Linked DNA regions of Homo sapiens: region 2 is linked to region 1. The links are contacts of gene promoters, found by promoter capture Hi-C in blood cells and fetal thymus (Javierre and others, 2016). All regions are on one chromosome and are shown on one strand. Each heading gives the region's core, a stretch centred on a gene start or on the middle of the fragment in contact. The rest is flanking DNA. Distances are from core to core; before and after follow the strand shown.

Region 1 (7,866 bases), core at 3,461-5,960:
TGGCACACTGTTACTCTAAGAAAGCACAGTGATTGCTGGATTCTCTCTGTCCCTGTGCAGATCTTCATCAGGTTATTGAACTCATAACAGGTGTATGAAGGAGATGGGCTTTGAGGATCTGGGTCGTGATGGCTGCTGAAGCTTCTACTTCAGATTTGAAGGGCAGCAGTCCTAAGGAGACCCCCAACACTTCCATCCCTGGTGGGATATGATGCCTGGCTCAAGTGAGCTCATAGATCTGGACAGAAGCATGTTGTGGAATACCTCTGTGAGGTTTATAATATAGTCTAAAAGCAGAGAAACTCCTTTGATCCCATCTTTGGAGAAGAGGTTTAGCATGTGGAATTTCCTTTCATCAGCAGCTATGTGCTTTGAAGCCGCCCTTGAGGCCCATGTTTAAAATGCCTTTCGTTGTTACAAAGCAATGAATAATTCATTTGGGGAATCAACTTGATGTTTAACATGTATTTGAAATAAATTTACATATGTTTTCTGCCTGTATAAATAATGATCAGTGATTCCCATGTATCTCTCAGATGGGCATTGAAATACACAGTTGGTCAGAAGGTCTTCCAAGCAACTGGAGATTGTAATATGCATTTTTCAATGGTAACCATGTTATTATCCATTCTGTAATACATTTTTTAAGAAGGCAAAAATGTACAAAGTATTAGTTAAAACTGTCAAAATGTCAGATACAAAAGTTCAATATTTTGAAAAATAATAATTTCCATATAATTTGCTCTATTATAATGATACCCAGTCATGTCCCCTAAAATAACCAGCTAGGCCTAAATATTATTATCATTGTTTCCCAGAACATAAGATTTTCAGTTCTGTACTACTAGGACTCTCTATCCCTCCTATTGCCCTGTCCCCAGACAAACACAATACTTTGTCACTATAGATTAAGTTTTATGTCCTAGACATTTATTTAAATGGAATTGTAGAAATGTTTTTCTGCGTTTGTTTTTGATTTTTGGTTTGGCTTCTTTCATTCACCCAATTTATTTTTAGATGTATCCATTTTGTTGCACATATCAATAGTTCATTCTTTTTTATTGCTGAATAGTATTCCAGTATATGGCTATATCATAAATTTTTTATCCATTCACCTGTTGTTGGATATTTTAATTATTTCCAATTAGGATCTCTTGTAAACAAAGCTTCTATGAATATTTGTGAATAAGTCTTTCCATGGAAATAGGCTTTCTTTCTCTAATAAATACTTAGGAGTGCAATGGCTGGATCATGTGGTAGATGTAAGATTAACATTGTAAGAAACTGCCTGTTTCCAAGTGTTTGTACCATTTTTCATTACCACCAGTAATGTATCACTGTTTCATCCTCCACAACCTCGACAGAGCTTGGTATAATCTGTCTTTTTAATTTTTTTAATTCTCACAGGAGTTTAGTAGGATCTCATTGAAATTTTCATTTACATTTCCCTTATAACGAGTGATGCTGAGCATCATTTCCTGTGCTTACATGATATTTGTATGTCTTCTTTAGTGGAATGTCTATTCAAATATTTTGCCTGTTTCTTTACTGGTGTGTGTTTTCTTCTTACTAAGATTTTAAACATATTCTGGATACAAGTCCTTTATTAAATATATAATTTTCAAACATTTTACCCCGGTCAGCAGCTTACTTGTCTATTTTTTCAACCATGTAGTTGGAAAGCTAAAGTTTTTAACTTTGAGGAAGTCCAATTTTTCAATTTCTTTGCTTATAGATTGTGGTTTTGTTGTCTCATCTATGAAATCTTCACCTGACCCATTGTCAAAAAGATTTTCTCCTGTTTTTTTTTTTTCTGCTAGAAGTTTTATAGCATCAAATTTTATATTTAGATCTCAGGTCCATTTTGAATAGACTTTTGTATATAGTGTGATATCTGAGTCACAGTTTATATTTGTGCATGTCAATATTCACTTGTCCCAGCACCATTTGTTGAAACAATAATCCTTTCTCCACTGAATCACCATTGCATCTTTGTCAAACTCAGTTGTCCATATACTTGTGGGTCTATAGCTGGACTCTTTATTCTGTTCCTTTGATCTACTAATCCATCTTGATGCCAATAGCACACTGTCTGGATTACTGTATGTTTGTAAGGAGTCTTGAAATCAGGTAGTGTTTGTCTTCTAATTTTGTTCTTTATCAAAGTTGTACTTCATAGTTGATATGGTTTGGAACTGTGTCCCTACCCAAATCTCATGTCAAATTGTAATCCCCAATGTTGGATATGAGGACTGGTGGGAGGTGATTGGATCGTGAGAGTGGATTTCTCCCTTTGGTTCTGTTCTCATAATAGAATTCTCATAAGATCTGGTTGTTTACAAGTGTGTAGCACCTTCCCTGCCATGTAAAACGCCTGCTTCCGCTTTACCTTTCGCCATGAGTTAAAGCTCCCTGAGGCCTCTCCAGAAGCAGATGCCTCTATGGTTCCTATATAGCCTGCAGAACCGTAAGCCATGAAAACCCCTTTTTTAAAATAAATCACCCAGTTTCATGTGTTTGTTTTTAGCAATATGGGAACAGACTAATAGAGTCTAGGTCTTTTACATGTCCATATGAATGTTAGAATCAGCCTGTCGGTTTCTTTAAAAATTTTTTAATAGGATTTCCATTTGAATTGCTCTGAATCTATAGATCAGTTTTGGAAGAATTGACATCTTAACAATACTGAATCTTCTCAGTATTGTTTGTGACCCATGAGCATGGTAAGTCCTCCACTTATTTAGGTCTTTAATTCTCTCAGCAATGATGTGTGGTGTTCAGTGTACAGGCACTGCACATCTGTGGACAGATTGTTCATAAATATTTCATACTCTTGATGATGCTATACATGGCTTTGTTTGTTAAACACAATTGCTAATTACTATATTTTCACAGTACTATCAGCAACCAAGTGTTTAACATCAGTGAGGCATTTTTTTGGTTGAAAGCACAGCTTACTCTAGGATGGAAAAGGTATTTGATCCTTAACCTGTGTTTACCTGTATTTCCGTATCTGCTTTTACAAGTCATTGGCGATATATTGAAACTATGGAGGAAAATGTTCCAGAGACAATTCTACAGGTCATCTTCAGAAATCACACCAAAAGAACATAGTTTAGTAGCTTTCAACTTTATATGTGTGGTCAGAAATGATTTTGTTGCAATGTGTGGCTCAGGCTGGAGTGCAATGGTGCAATCATAGCTCACTGCAGCCTTGAACTCCCAGGCTCAAGCAATCCTCTCACCTCAGCCTCCTGAATAACTGACTACAGGTGTGTGCCCCCATGCTCAGCTAAACTTAAAAACATTTTTCAGAGACAGAGTTTTGCTATGTTGTTTAGACTTCTCTCACACTCCTAACCTCAAGCAATCCTCCTACCTCAGCCATCTGAGTAGCTGGGATTATAGCCACGAGCCACCATGCCTGGCGAGATTTACTTCTTTACCCACCAGTAAATCAACCTCAATAAATTCTTGGAATTTGGAGTGGTGAGAGGGTGAGCAAGCATATATGTATGTGAGTATGTATACATTTGTATGTCACTGAAGCTGTCAGGAATTTTTATTGTAAGGACTACTTGAGGTTAATTACTGTGCATCATGTCAATCCTATTTAGTTCCTAGTACATATTAGGAACAAGCTCGGGATAGTGGTGTTTGTTTTTTCTCAGCTTTCCTTGGCCAGAATGGTTACCATGGTGACTCAGTGACTGCGGTGTGATTTGGTGCAGACTGAGCATCCATTTAGGATTCTTGCCCGAATCTCTCACACCACATTGCCTGTCCATCAGATATAGTATTAGCTTTTCATCTTATGTGTAATTAATCACTTTTCAAGGGCTCAGAAGAAAGTTGCTTCACTTATCTGAGGTTAAGCTACAGATAACATAAAAAGACACTAAGTACCTTGAAATAAAAGGAAATGAGTTGTTGATATTCCTCTCCTGCCCCAATCTCTATTGGGAGGTTAGAAGAGAAATTCTTGGAATCATACAGCATGTGCTCTTTTGTGTCTTGCTTCTTTCAGTCAACATAATGTATGTGAAATTAATATTTATTGTGGTCTATATTGTAGATTGCTTATTCTCATTGGTGTAAAGTATTATATTATTTGGATATTTCACACTATATTTATCTGTGATGGAGATTTGTGTATTTTCCAGTTTTTGACATCTCATGAATAATGGTGTTATGAATGTTCATGTTCATTCTTTTGGATGAACATATATTTTCTTTTTTAAAAAAATCTTATTATCAATAATATTTGAACTATTTAATATCTGTCATCTTAAAATTATTATTCATAACACTTTTTACCTTGTAGCTATAGACAAATACATTCCCATTTTAGCAGGTTAATGAAATTATCTTTATAATACTATAGAAGCATTTATTTGAAGAATACCAGAAGGAACATCCTGAAAACCAAGAACTCAAAATGCCTTTTTATCCCAAAGACATGTTTTACAAATATATACCCATTCATCCATTTGTTTTCACAAATGAAGCTACAGAGAACTTTGAATATAATGATGTGCAGCAGGGGCTTATTCCTAACATATTTAAAATTTAGGTCAACCAAACTTCTCTGTGGAAACTGAGTTGAAATCCGAAATCTTACAATCCTAATTTCGAGCCACATTCATTTTAACTTAATTTTAACATGTTTTGCAAAATGTTCCAATATAAACTTAATAGTTCCTATACCACCAAACATGGATCCTCATGATTTTATTTTCTAGATTGGCTGATAGGCTGAATAATCTCCTGTAGGGTAAGAAGTGTCAACTGTATCAAGCACATGGAGGTGGACTGGCTACAGGAGAAAGGTTTTCCAAATCAAATTCCAAGTATTTCTTTCTCTTTTTATATTACCATTAGGAGAAATAACTAATGTAGATGACGGGTTGATGGGTGCAGCAAACCACCATGGCACGTGTATACCTATGTAACAAACCTGTACATTCTCCACATGTATCCCAGAACTTAAAAGTATAATAAAAAAATTTAACAAAATGGTGTTAGATTCAGAGGCTTGATTCAATTTAGATTTGTTTTGGTCAGAAGTACTTCATATGTGGTATTGTTTATTCCTATAGTGTTACACAGGGGGCTCATTGTGTCTAATTGTCTCTCCTCTTGTGATGTTAAGATTAATTACTATGTTCAAGTATTGTTAAGCTGATCCATCCATTATAAAATTTCCCATCCCTTTTTCACCTCGATTTTTCTGCAGCGTCTAAGGATTGTTGCTTAGTTCTATATTCATTAAAGGTCATAAAAGGATGATATTCTAATTCTATAATTTTCTCTGCTTTATTAGCTGGAATTATTCTATTAAATAAACTTTCATAAACCATTAGGTTACACTGAGGGATAGTATGTATAGAAAGGGTTGGATGAGTGCCTAATTCTTTTGCAATATTTCCACTTTTCAAAACAATGAGTTGTTTCCCTAGGGTTCTCCAAAGGCAAGCAATGAGTTGATATTGTTTGTTTTATTTTATTTTTCTTTTAGAGTGTCATCATGAGCTGTAGAAGTTTTTATATTATAATGTGTTTTAATCCATAGTAGTCATTATTTTATTTAATGTTCAAATTGCTTCATCTTTGTCCAGCGAGAGCCCCTTAAGCTTGGCTTCTGAGTCTTTTTGACGCACTCTCTGGCATGATAGTTTGGTCCAGATTCATCTAGTAGAATGGCTACACAGACCTAAACTCAGTCATTTCTCTAAGATAACCTAGTTCCTTTCAGTGTGATGTGTTTTAAGTGGATTCAATATGGGCACTAGAGTTGCTCATTGCTACTGGGTCTATCATGTTTCTTCACCTTTCTAGTGCATGGAGCCAGTGTATATATATTATATTTTTAAGGGAAAAGACATTATTGGCTTCTGTCCTGGGCTGTTTTTCCTTCTCTTTATAGGTAATGATTTTTTAAATCAATTTTCATTAAAACTTTCCAATTTTAAAAATATAAGCAAATAGAATGTTTCTATTAGTTTTCTCCTATTCCATATATATAAGGTGACATATTCTACACTGGTGGAGTCCAATAGAATTTCTACAAAGGTGAAAATATTCTATGTCTCAACTGTCCAACATAGTAGCCACTAGCTACCTGTGACTATTAAACACCTAAAATGTGGTGAGTGTGACTGAGGAAGTGAATTTAAAATTCCATTTAAATTTAGTTAACTTAAATAGCCATGAGTGGCCAGTGGGTATGGTATGGGACAACAGCAGCTCTACACATTTTTCTGCACTTTGCTTTATTCACTTAATGGTATATCCTGGAAATCACTACATAGCAGCAGAGAGAGGGAATCTTCCTTGCTTGTTATACCGGCATTGAAATCTAGGATGTAGATGCACCTTAGATTATTCAGTCAGTCCTTTATTGGTGGACATCTGTCTTATTTCCAGTCTTCTGCTGTTACAATTTGTTCTGCCAAGAATGACCTTGTGCTTCTGCCTTTTTATCTTTTTGAATTGTATCTTTGGGATACATTCTCCGAAGATTGTTGGTTCCAAGATAAAATAATTGTGCCCTATGAAATAGAAGATTTGAAACAGAGAGCATTTAGAAATATAGTAGCAATAAATGAATGTTGGTTTTATCTTATCATTCCTTTGATTCCATGTACTCTCTGCTCTCTTATTTTCTTTCTAGTGTGACGTGGGTGAAGGAGTTCTTATTGAGCCATGGGAGGAAGAAATAGTACAGAAGAGCAAAGAATAATAATGAGTCAGCTAGACAGAAGACAGGAGTCATCAGATTTGTACCCTAGTTACTCGACCCATCAACTGACTGTGGTTTTTGGGGTGAGTCTCTTCCCTCTGTTGGCCTCTGGTCTAACACAGAAGGATACTCAGTATAGAAATAGTGGTTAGGGGAGGGGGCTTTTGGGTGAGAAGGACTTGGATTTGACCCTGATAACCATTACTTGCTGGTTGCATGATCTGTATCAACCAATTTATCTACCGTGTGCCCTGTAACTATTTATGTCTTTTATTATTATTCCTATCATGCATACAAAGACTGAATGATAAAAGTGGGGATTACTTTGCCAGGTATTAAAGTGTTCTTTGAGCGTATAATTTCATAAGTTTTGGACAGAGTGGTTGACATGCAGGTTAAAGAAGTCTAAAGAAAGCTCTTGAGTAGACCCTGGCATATAACGTCATTTAAGATGCTGCAAGTATGGCATTTCTACTCAAATGCATTGTTAAGGAATTGGGTCTGGGCCAGCTGTAAAGGGTTCATTAAAAAGCAAAGTTAGATTATATCTTATACCTTGTCATGTACTTAGAATGTTTCATCCACATGTTAGTACTTAAGACAAAAGCAAAACTGAAAATAACAACAAAAAACCCAGGATGCTATACTGTACATATAATTATAACAGCTTTATGAATTGTATTTGTAATGCATGTACAGTACATGTGCATATATCCATGTATAAAAAATCCTTAGAAAGATCTAGTACCATGTTAATTTTAATTATGATGGGATTGCTGGCTATTGATATTTTTAACCTCTGCATTTGGCTCAATATTAAACATTTGCTAAGGTGAGAGTATGGATTGTACATACTCCATACCCCATGCTTGACTTACTATGGGAGTTACATCCTGATAAACTCATTGTAAGTTGAAAATAATTGTAGGTCAAAAATGGGCATTTGTAGACAAGATGAGATGTGAAAATACAATATCAAAAAAATCCTGGCAACACTGTACACTATAGGGTCTCAGTAGTTTATCCTCGTGATTGCATGGCTGACTGGGAGCTGTGGCTCACTGCTGCTCCCTAACCAGCATCACAAGAGTATAATACTGCGTTTTGCTAGCCCAGGAAAATAT
Region 2 (7,866 bases), core at 1,674-4,173, 240 kb before region 1:
TCCTGTCCAACTGATCTCTCAAACCCCAACCCCTTCTACAAAACAACAACTCCTTTCCTTCCTGGGCATGGTTGGATACTTTTACCTTTGGATACCTGGTTTTGCCATCCTAACAAAACCATTATGTAAACTCACAAAAGAAAACCTAGCTGATGCCATAGATCCTAAATCCTTTTCCCACTCCTCTTTCCGTTCCTTGAAGACAGCATTAGAGAATGCTTCCACACTAGCTCTCCCTGACTCATCCCAACCCTTTTTCATTACACACAGCCGAAGTGCAGGGCTGTGTGGTCGAAATTCTTACACAAGGACTGGGACCGCTCCCTGTGGCCTTTTTATCCAAACAACTTGAGCTTACTGTTTTAGCCTAGCCCTCATGTCTGCATGCGGCAGCTGCCTCTGTTTTAATACTTTTAGAGGCCCTCAAAATCACAAACTGTGCTCAACTCACTCTCTACAGTTCTCATAACTTCCAAAATCTATTTTCTTCCTCACACCAGATGCACATACTTTCTGCCCCCCTCCACTACCTCTCAGCAAGCCGAACTCATTGCCTTAACTAGAGCCCTCACTCTTGCAAAAGGACTACGCATCAATATTTATACTGACTCTAAATATGCCTTCTATATTCTGCACCACCATGCTGTTATAAGGGCAGAAAGAGGTTTCCTCACTACGCAAGGGTCCTCCATCATTAATTCCTCTTTAATAAAAACTCTTCTCAAGGCTGCTTTACTTCCAAAGGAAGCTGGAGTCATTCACTGCAAGGGCCGTCAAAAGGCGTCAGATCCCATCGCTCAGGGCAACGCTTATGCTGATAAGGTAGCTAAAAAAGCAGCTAGAGTACAACTTCGTCCCTCAAGGCCAGTTTTTCTCCTTCTCATCGGTCACTCCTACCTACTCCCCTACTGAAACTTCCACCTATCAATCTCTTCCCACACAAGGCAAATGGTTCTTGAACCAAGGAAAATATCTCCTTCCTGGTGGGTGCCTGTAATCCCAGCTACTCAGGAGGCTGAGACAGGAGAATCCCTTGAACTCAGTAGGCTGAGGTTGCAGTGAGCCAAGATCATGCCACTGCACTCCAGCATGGGTTACAGGAGCAAGACTCTGTCTCAAAAAAATAAATAAATAAAATAAAATCTCTCTTATTTAAAAAAAAAAAAACAAAAAGAAAAAAAAAGAAAATATCTCCTTCCAGCCTCACAGGCCGATTCTATTCTGTCGTCATTTCATAGCCTCTTCCATGTAGGTTACAAGCCACTAGCCCGCCTCTTAGAACCTCTCATTTCCTTTCCACCGTGGAAATCTATCCTCAAGGAAATCACTTCTCAGTGTTCCATCTGCTATTCTACTACTCCTCAGGGATTGTTCAGGCCCCCTCCCTTCCCTACACATCAAGCTCGGGGATTTGCCCCTGCCCAGGACTGGCAAATTGACTTTACTCACATGCCTCGAGTCAGGAAACTAAAATACCTCTTGGTCTGGGTGGGTAGAGGCCTTTCCCACAGGGTCTGAAAAGGCTACTGCGGTCATTTCTTCCTTTCTGTAAGACATAATTCCTTGGTTTGGCCTTCCCACCTCTATACAGTCCAATAACGGACCGGCCTTTACTAGTTAAATCACCCAAGCAGTTTCTCAGGCTCTTGGTATTCAGTGAAACCCTCATACCTCTTACCATCCTCAATCTTCAGAAAAGGTAGAATGGACTAATGGTCTTTTAAAAACGCACCTCACCAAGCTCAGCCACCAACTAAAAAATGACTAGACAATACTTTTACCACTTTCCCTTCTCAAAATTCGGGCCTGTCCTCGGAATGCTACAGGTTACAGCCCATTTGAGCTCCTGTATAGACACTCCTTTTTATTAGGCCCCCGTCTCATTCCAGACACCAGCCCAACTTGGGCTGTGCCCCAAAAACTTGTCATCCCTACTATCTTCTGTCTAGTCATAATCCTATTCACCGTTCTCAACTACTCATACATGCCCTGCTCTTGTTTACACTGCCGGTTTACACTGTTTCTCCAAGCCATCACAGCTGATATCTCCTGGTGCTATCCCCAAACCGCCCACCACTCTTAACTCCCTCTTAAAGTAAATAAATAATCTTTACTGGCAGGGCTATGCTGAACCTCCTTGGGCACTCTCTAATTGGATGTCCTGGGTCCTCCCAATTGTTAGTCCTTTAATACCTGTTTTTCTCCTCTTATTCGGACCTTGTGTCTTCCGTTTAGTTTTTCAATTCATACAAAACCGCACCCAGGCCATCACCAATCATTCTATACAACAAGTGTTTCTTCTAACAACCCCACAATATCACCCCTTATCACAAAATCTTCCTTCAGCTTAATCTCTCCCACTCTAGGTTCCCACGCCTCCCCTAATCCCGCTTGAAGCAGCCCTGAGAAACATCGCCCATTATATCTCCATACCACCCCCCAAAAGTTATTGCTGCCCCAACACTTCAACACTATTTTATTTTATTTTTCTTATCAATATAAGAAGACAGGAATGTCAGATCTCTGAGCCCAAGCCTGCATATATACATCCAGATGGCCTGAAGCAAGTAAAGAATCACAAAAGAAGTGAAAATGGCCAGTTCCTGCCTTAACTGGTGACATTACCTTGTGAAATTCCTTCTCCTGGCTCATCCTGACTCAAAAGCTCCCCCACTGAGCACCTTGTGACCCCCACCCCAGCCAGCCAGAGAACAACCCCCTTTGACTGTAATTTTCCACTACCTACCAAAATCCTATAAAACAGCCCCACCCCTATCTCCCTTATCTGACTCTTTTCGGATTCAGCCTGCCTGCACCCAGGTGATTAAAAAGCTTTATTGCTCACACAAAGCCTGTTTGGTGATTTCACATGGACGCGCATGAAACCTAGTATGGTGCCTTGTTTGTGGCTGGCCTTTATTAAATAACCAGAGAACATCCTCCCATCTCTGTTCATATATATAGGAGGACAGTAGGATCATTGGTGTTCTTGAGATTAGGTCCTTCAAGCTTTCATCCAGGAATTACAATAGAGGGCTGACTTGGTCCATCTGGACATCCATCCTGTTGTTCATCCCACAACCACCATAACCACCAGCATAGTTTCTACTCCTCCTCTTAGAAAGCCCAAATTCCAACAAAGATACAATGTCTCTTTCCCTTTCCCCAGCAGCCCTGATGATACAGTCTCTATTTTTAAAGAGAACCTCCCTCAACTTCTTCTCCAAATAGGAGCTAATGAATAGGAAAGAAAGTATTGCCAGGCCCAGTGGTTCATGCCTGTAATCCCAGCACTTTGGGAGGCCAAGGTGGGTGGATTGCTTGAGCTCACAAGTTCAAGACCAGCCTGGGCAACATGGCAAAACCCTGTCTCTACAAAAAATACAAAAATTTGCCAGGTATGATGGTGCGTACCTGTAGTCCCAGCTACTCGGGAGGCTAAGGGGGAGGATGGCTTGCGCCCAGGAGGTGTAGGTTGCAGTGAGCTGAGATCATGCCACTGCACTCCAGCCTGGGCAACAGAGACAGACCTTGTCTCAAAAAAAAAAAAAAAAAAGTATTAATTGACATCAAATTGAAACATTTTTAAGGCAGTGACAAATGTTACTAGAGCCCCTCACTGGAAGGAGAGTGGAGTTTCCCAAAGCATGACCAGAGATTGTCATCTCCACTGGATGGTGAAAGGTCTAATGTTAAAAAAAAAAAAAAAAAAAAAAAAAAAAAAAAAAAAAAAATCTGCAGGCAAATATATTTGGGGAAGCCTGGGTTAACCAAAGTTTTTTGTTTTTGTTTTGTTTTGTTTGTTTGTTTGTTTGTTTGTTTTAGTGTCTCTGTAGCCAGGCATGGTGGTACGCACTTCTAGTCCTAGCTACTTGAAGAGTCTGAAGCAGGACTGCTTGATCCCAGGAGTTTAAAACTGCCATGAGCTAGGAGCATGCCACTGCACTGTCACCTGGGCAATAGAGTGAGACACTGACTCTTAAAAAAAATTTTTTTTCGGCAGGGCGCGGTGGCTCAACGCCTGTAATCCCAGCACTTTGGGAGGCTGAGGGGGGCGGATCACAAGGTCAGGAGATCAAGACCATTCTGGTTAACACGGTGAAACCCCGTCTCTACTAAAAAATACAAAAAAAATTAGCCGGGCATGGTGGCAGGCGCCTGTAGTCCCAGCTACTCTGGAGGCTAAGGCAGGAGAATAGCGTGAACCCAGGAGGCGGAGCTTGCAGTGAGCCGAGATCACACCACTGCACTCCAGCCTTGGTTACAGAGCGAGACTCCGTCTCAAGGAAAAAAAAAAATAATGATTTTTTTTTGGCCGGGCACAGTGGCTCATGCCTGTAATCCCAGTACTTTGGAAGGCCAAAGTGGGCAGATCACCTGAGGTCGGGAGTTCAAGACCAGCCTGACCAACCTGAAGAAACCCCGTCTCTACTAAATATGCAAAAACTAGCCAGGCGTGGTGGCATACGCCTGTAGTCTCAGCTACTTGGGAGACTTTACAAAACCTCCACTATGCTAACATGCATTATGGCCTCTAAAAGACAGAGATGATAGAGTTTGCAGCTTGATGCCATTAGTTAAGTACTTACTGTGTGCTAGGCTCTGTACTAAGTGCTTCACTTGCATTAATCCTTATCAAATCCAATAGATATTGCTGTTATCTTCGTTCTTTAATTCCTTCCCACATTCCAATAGCCCAAGGTCTGGCTTGAGTTGGCAGGCTTCTTGTCTCAGTTACTAGCATCCGGCTCCCTCCTGGCCAGTGTCTTCTTGGCAGCATTTTCCCTAATCTCACCCTCAGGAACTAGTCCATGCTCCATCCTCATCCTATCCCAGACAAATGTCAAAGTCCCAAGTGAAGCTATAACTACCTGATATGGTTTGGCTCTGTGTCCCCATCCAAATCTCACCTTGAATTGTAATCTCCATAATCCCCATGTGTCAAGGGCAGGAACAGGTGGAGGTAATCAGATCATGGGGGCGGTTTGCCTCATTCAATTCTTGTAATAGTGAGTCTCATGAGATCTAATGGTTTTAGAATCATCTGGCATTTCCTCTGTTTGCACTTATTCTCTCTTCTGCATCCCTGTGAAGTGGTGCCTTCCACCATGATTGTATGTTTCCTGAGGCCTCCCTAGCCATGCAGAACTGTGAGTCAATTAAGCTTCTTTTCTTTATAAATTACCCAGTCTCAGGTATTTCCTCACAGCAGTGTGAGAATGGACTAATACACCACCCAAGGCATTCTTCTTGCCTGCTACCTAGATACAGCCAATTTATCAAGACAGGGGAATTGCAATAGAGAAAGTTTAATACATGCAGAGCCAGCTAAACAGGAGACTGGAGTTTTATTATTAGTCTAATCAGCCTCCCTGAAAATTTGAAGGGTAAGGTTTTTCAAGGATGGTTTGGTTCTGTGTGAACTCTGGCAGTTATCAACCTGCTTTTTTGTCCCGCTACTCCCTCCCCTTTGAAAAACTGGTAGCAGTAAACCTTATAGCCAAAAGAGGAAATGGGAATAGGAAGAATACAGATATGGATATTCAAGAGACAATCATAGGGCTGTGGAAAATGGTCCTTATGTGCTGAGTCCACTTCTGCTTGGGACCACAGAGGAGTCGCTGTTCCAGGTGGAGTCATCCAGTCAGTTGTCAGAAATGTAAAAGTCTGAAAAGACATCTTAAAAAGCCAATCTTAAGTTCCACAATAGTGATGTTATTTACAGGAGCAATTGGCAATGTTGCAAATCTTGTGATCTCTGGAACAATGGCTATTAATCATTTCACTACACCTGTATCTTAGCAGAATTCAGGCCCCTTTCATAATCTTAAACTTGTGGCCTTGTATTAGTTTTATAAAGGCAGTTTAGTTTTGGGAAGGGCTATTACCATTCAATCTATAAATTTCTACCAAAGTTAGCTTGGCCCACACCCAGGAATAATCAAGGGCAGTTTGGAGGTTAAAGGCAAGATGGAGTTGGTTAGGTAAGATCTCTTTCACTGTCATAATTTTATCACTGTTAAAATTTTTGCAAAGGCAGTTTCAAAGAGGTCCTCTCTACTGAGGACCTCTTTAGAAGTCTTTGTGGGATGGGTAATGTCCCTCTTCCAGACTCAAGCCCTCAGCTCCAACCTCCTCTGGAGTCCTCTGAGCTGACCGCTGTGGCTGAGCTGGGCCAGGGGTATGCTGCCTCCCTCCACTACCAGTGTCCAGTTGAATGCACAAGGACCAGATGTGTATTCTTCAAGTGTGAGCCAATCTGGTGCCACTGAATCCTGCAAAGAGGCATGCCCAGGCCCTGGAAATGTTATAGTAGGTAGTCAGACATGAGCAGGGCAGGAGAGGGCTCCCCCAAAACTAGGAATGTCAGGTGACCATCAGGTGATGGTCAGGTGATTGTTAAACTGTCTCTCTAAAATAATAATTGGTTGCAGTTGGCACCAGGGAATGTCTCCCAATAGATAGAAAAACCTAAAACTGGTGATCAGCAGCTTCCTGATAAGATCTCAGGAGCTGGGCTAGTGGGTTCAAGCATGTGCACTAAGAGGCAAAATGGCAGAGTTTAACTGGTATATGGCCTTCCTCTAGAACACTCAACTGATAAGGAAAGAACGCCTCATGTGAGCATGCTTACAACTTCAGTAAACGTACTGTGCATACGGCCCCTCCCAAATGCTGGCAGGCCAGTGCACATGTGGACAGCCCACCCCAAGGGAAGAATCAAGAGAGAAGAGATGCAAACCCCCAGAAGCGTGCCAACATATAAAACCCCAAGTCGAAGGTCAAACCATGCATTTGAACCTCTCAAGTCGCCTGCTTGGTCTTCTTACAAGTATACGTTACATCCTTTTGTTCCTACACTAAAACTTCTTCAGAAACTTTCACTCCTCCTCTAAAACTTGCCTCAGTCTTTCCCTTTGCCTTATGACCCTCCATCGAATTCTTTCTTCTGAGGAGTCGAGAATTGAGGTTGCTGCAGACCCGTACAGATTTGCCACTAGCAGGAAGACCAGAAGTTGCAACAGCTGCAGGCAGAGAGTAGGGGTGAGGTGCTCAGTGCAAAGAGAATTCTGGTGGCAAGGGGATCCTTGATCTGTGGTGGTGTGTGACCACTCTGGGCAGTGATCCAAAAAATTGAATTCACACACACTCACTTCTTCCTGGAGCAAGCAGAACAAATGTTTCTTGCATCCTGCTCAGCTCCAGCCCTCCTCAAGCTCCAACCACCCCCCACCACACCAAATAAAAAAAAAAGAGATTTAAAGCTCAGCTATTTTTAATTTTTTGCTTCTCCAAAAGTTGGCCTGGAGCTCACAGCTATTTTTCCTCTTTTCTCTACACTGGAGTTTTCATCGATTTGAAACTCTCTTAATCCTTTAGGCCATGGGCTGATGAACCTTCTGAGGTAACCTCTTTGGCAAACTGCATAGGTGGGTGTCAGTGGGGATCATGCTCTTGTTGAGGGCAAGAAGGGCCTTCCTCAGCCCTTGCAAGACAAGACTCCCTCTCTGACCCTTTTCTGGCATTTCCTGCTGTTCTTGGCTATACTATTCCTAAAATCTTTACAATCTTCAAAGTGATGCTTTTTTGTATGCTAATGAGTTGACTTATGGCTGGCAGCAGGTAGGTAGCCTCAGGATGGGAGTTGATCACCAAAAAGACCAAGGCAGAATTAGAGGATTGTGATGTTCAGCCACACCCCCAGCCTCCTAGGAGGGGAGAAGGGCTGAAAGTTAAGTTAATCACTGATGGCCAATGATTTAATCAATCAAGCCTACATAATAAAGCCTTCATAAAAACCCAGAAAGACAGGGTTTGAAAAGCCTGTGGATAGCCATACATGGAGTTTGAACATCTGCCCACCAG

What was found. The method cuts DNA at HindIII sites, captures the fragments that hold promoters and counts their contacts. A CHiCAGO score of 5 or more calls a contact.
Region 2: a contact is called between a fragment that was not itself captured here and the fragment with the promoter of RAB40A in region 1, in 1 of 17 cell types (total B cells). The highest score is 6.1, in total B cells.

What each region holds. Positions count from the first base shown.
Region 1 is chrX:103,516,333-103,524,198 of GRCh38, reverse strand. RAB40A (RAB40A, member RAS oncogene family) reads left to right here and starts at 4,710. Exons shown (of 3, transcript NM_080879.3): 1 at 4,710-4,829; 2 at 6,674-6,825. It overlaps LL0XNC01-250H12.3 (a long non-coding RNA gene), which reads right to left. Exons shown (of 6, transcript NR_188440.1): 6 at 6,256-6,551. The HindIII fragment of the contact is 4,467 bases long and covers 1,169-5,635 here.
Region 2 is chrX:103,756,176-103,764,041 of GRCh38, reverse strand. No RefSeq gene overlaps it. Among named protein-coding and RNA genes, the nearest start is that of PLP1, 17 kb to the left of the region's middle. The HindIII fragment of the contact is 177 bases long and covers 2,835-3,011 here.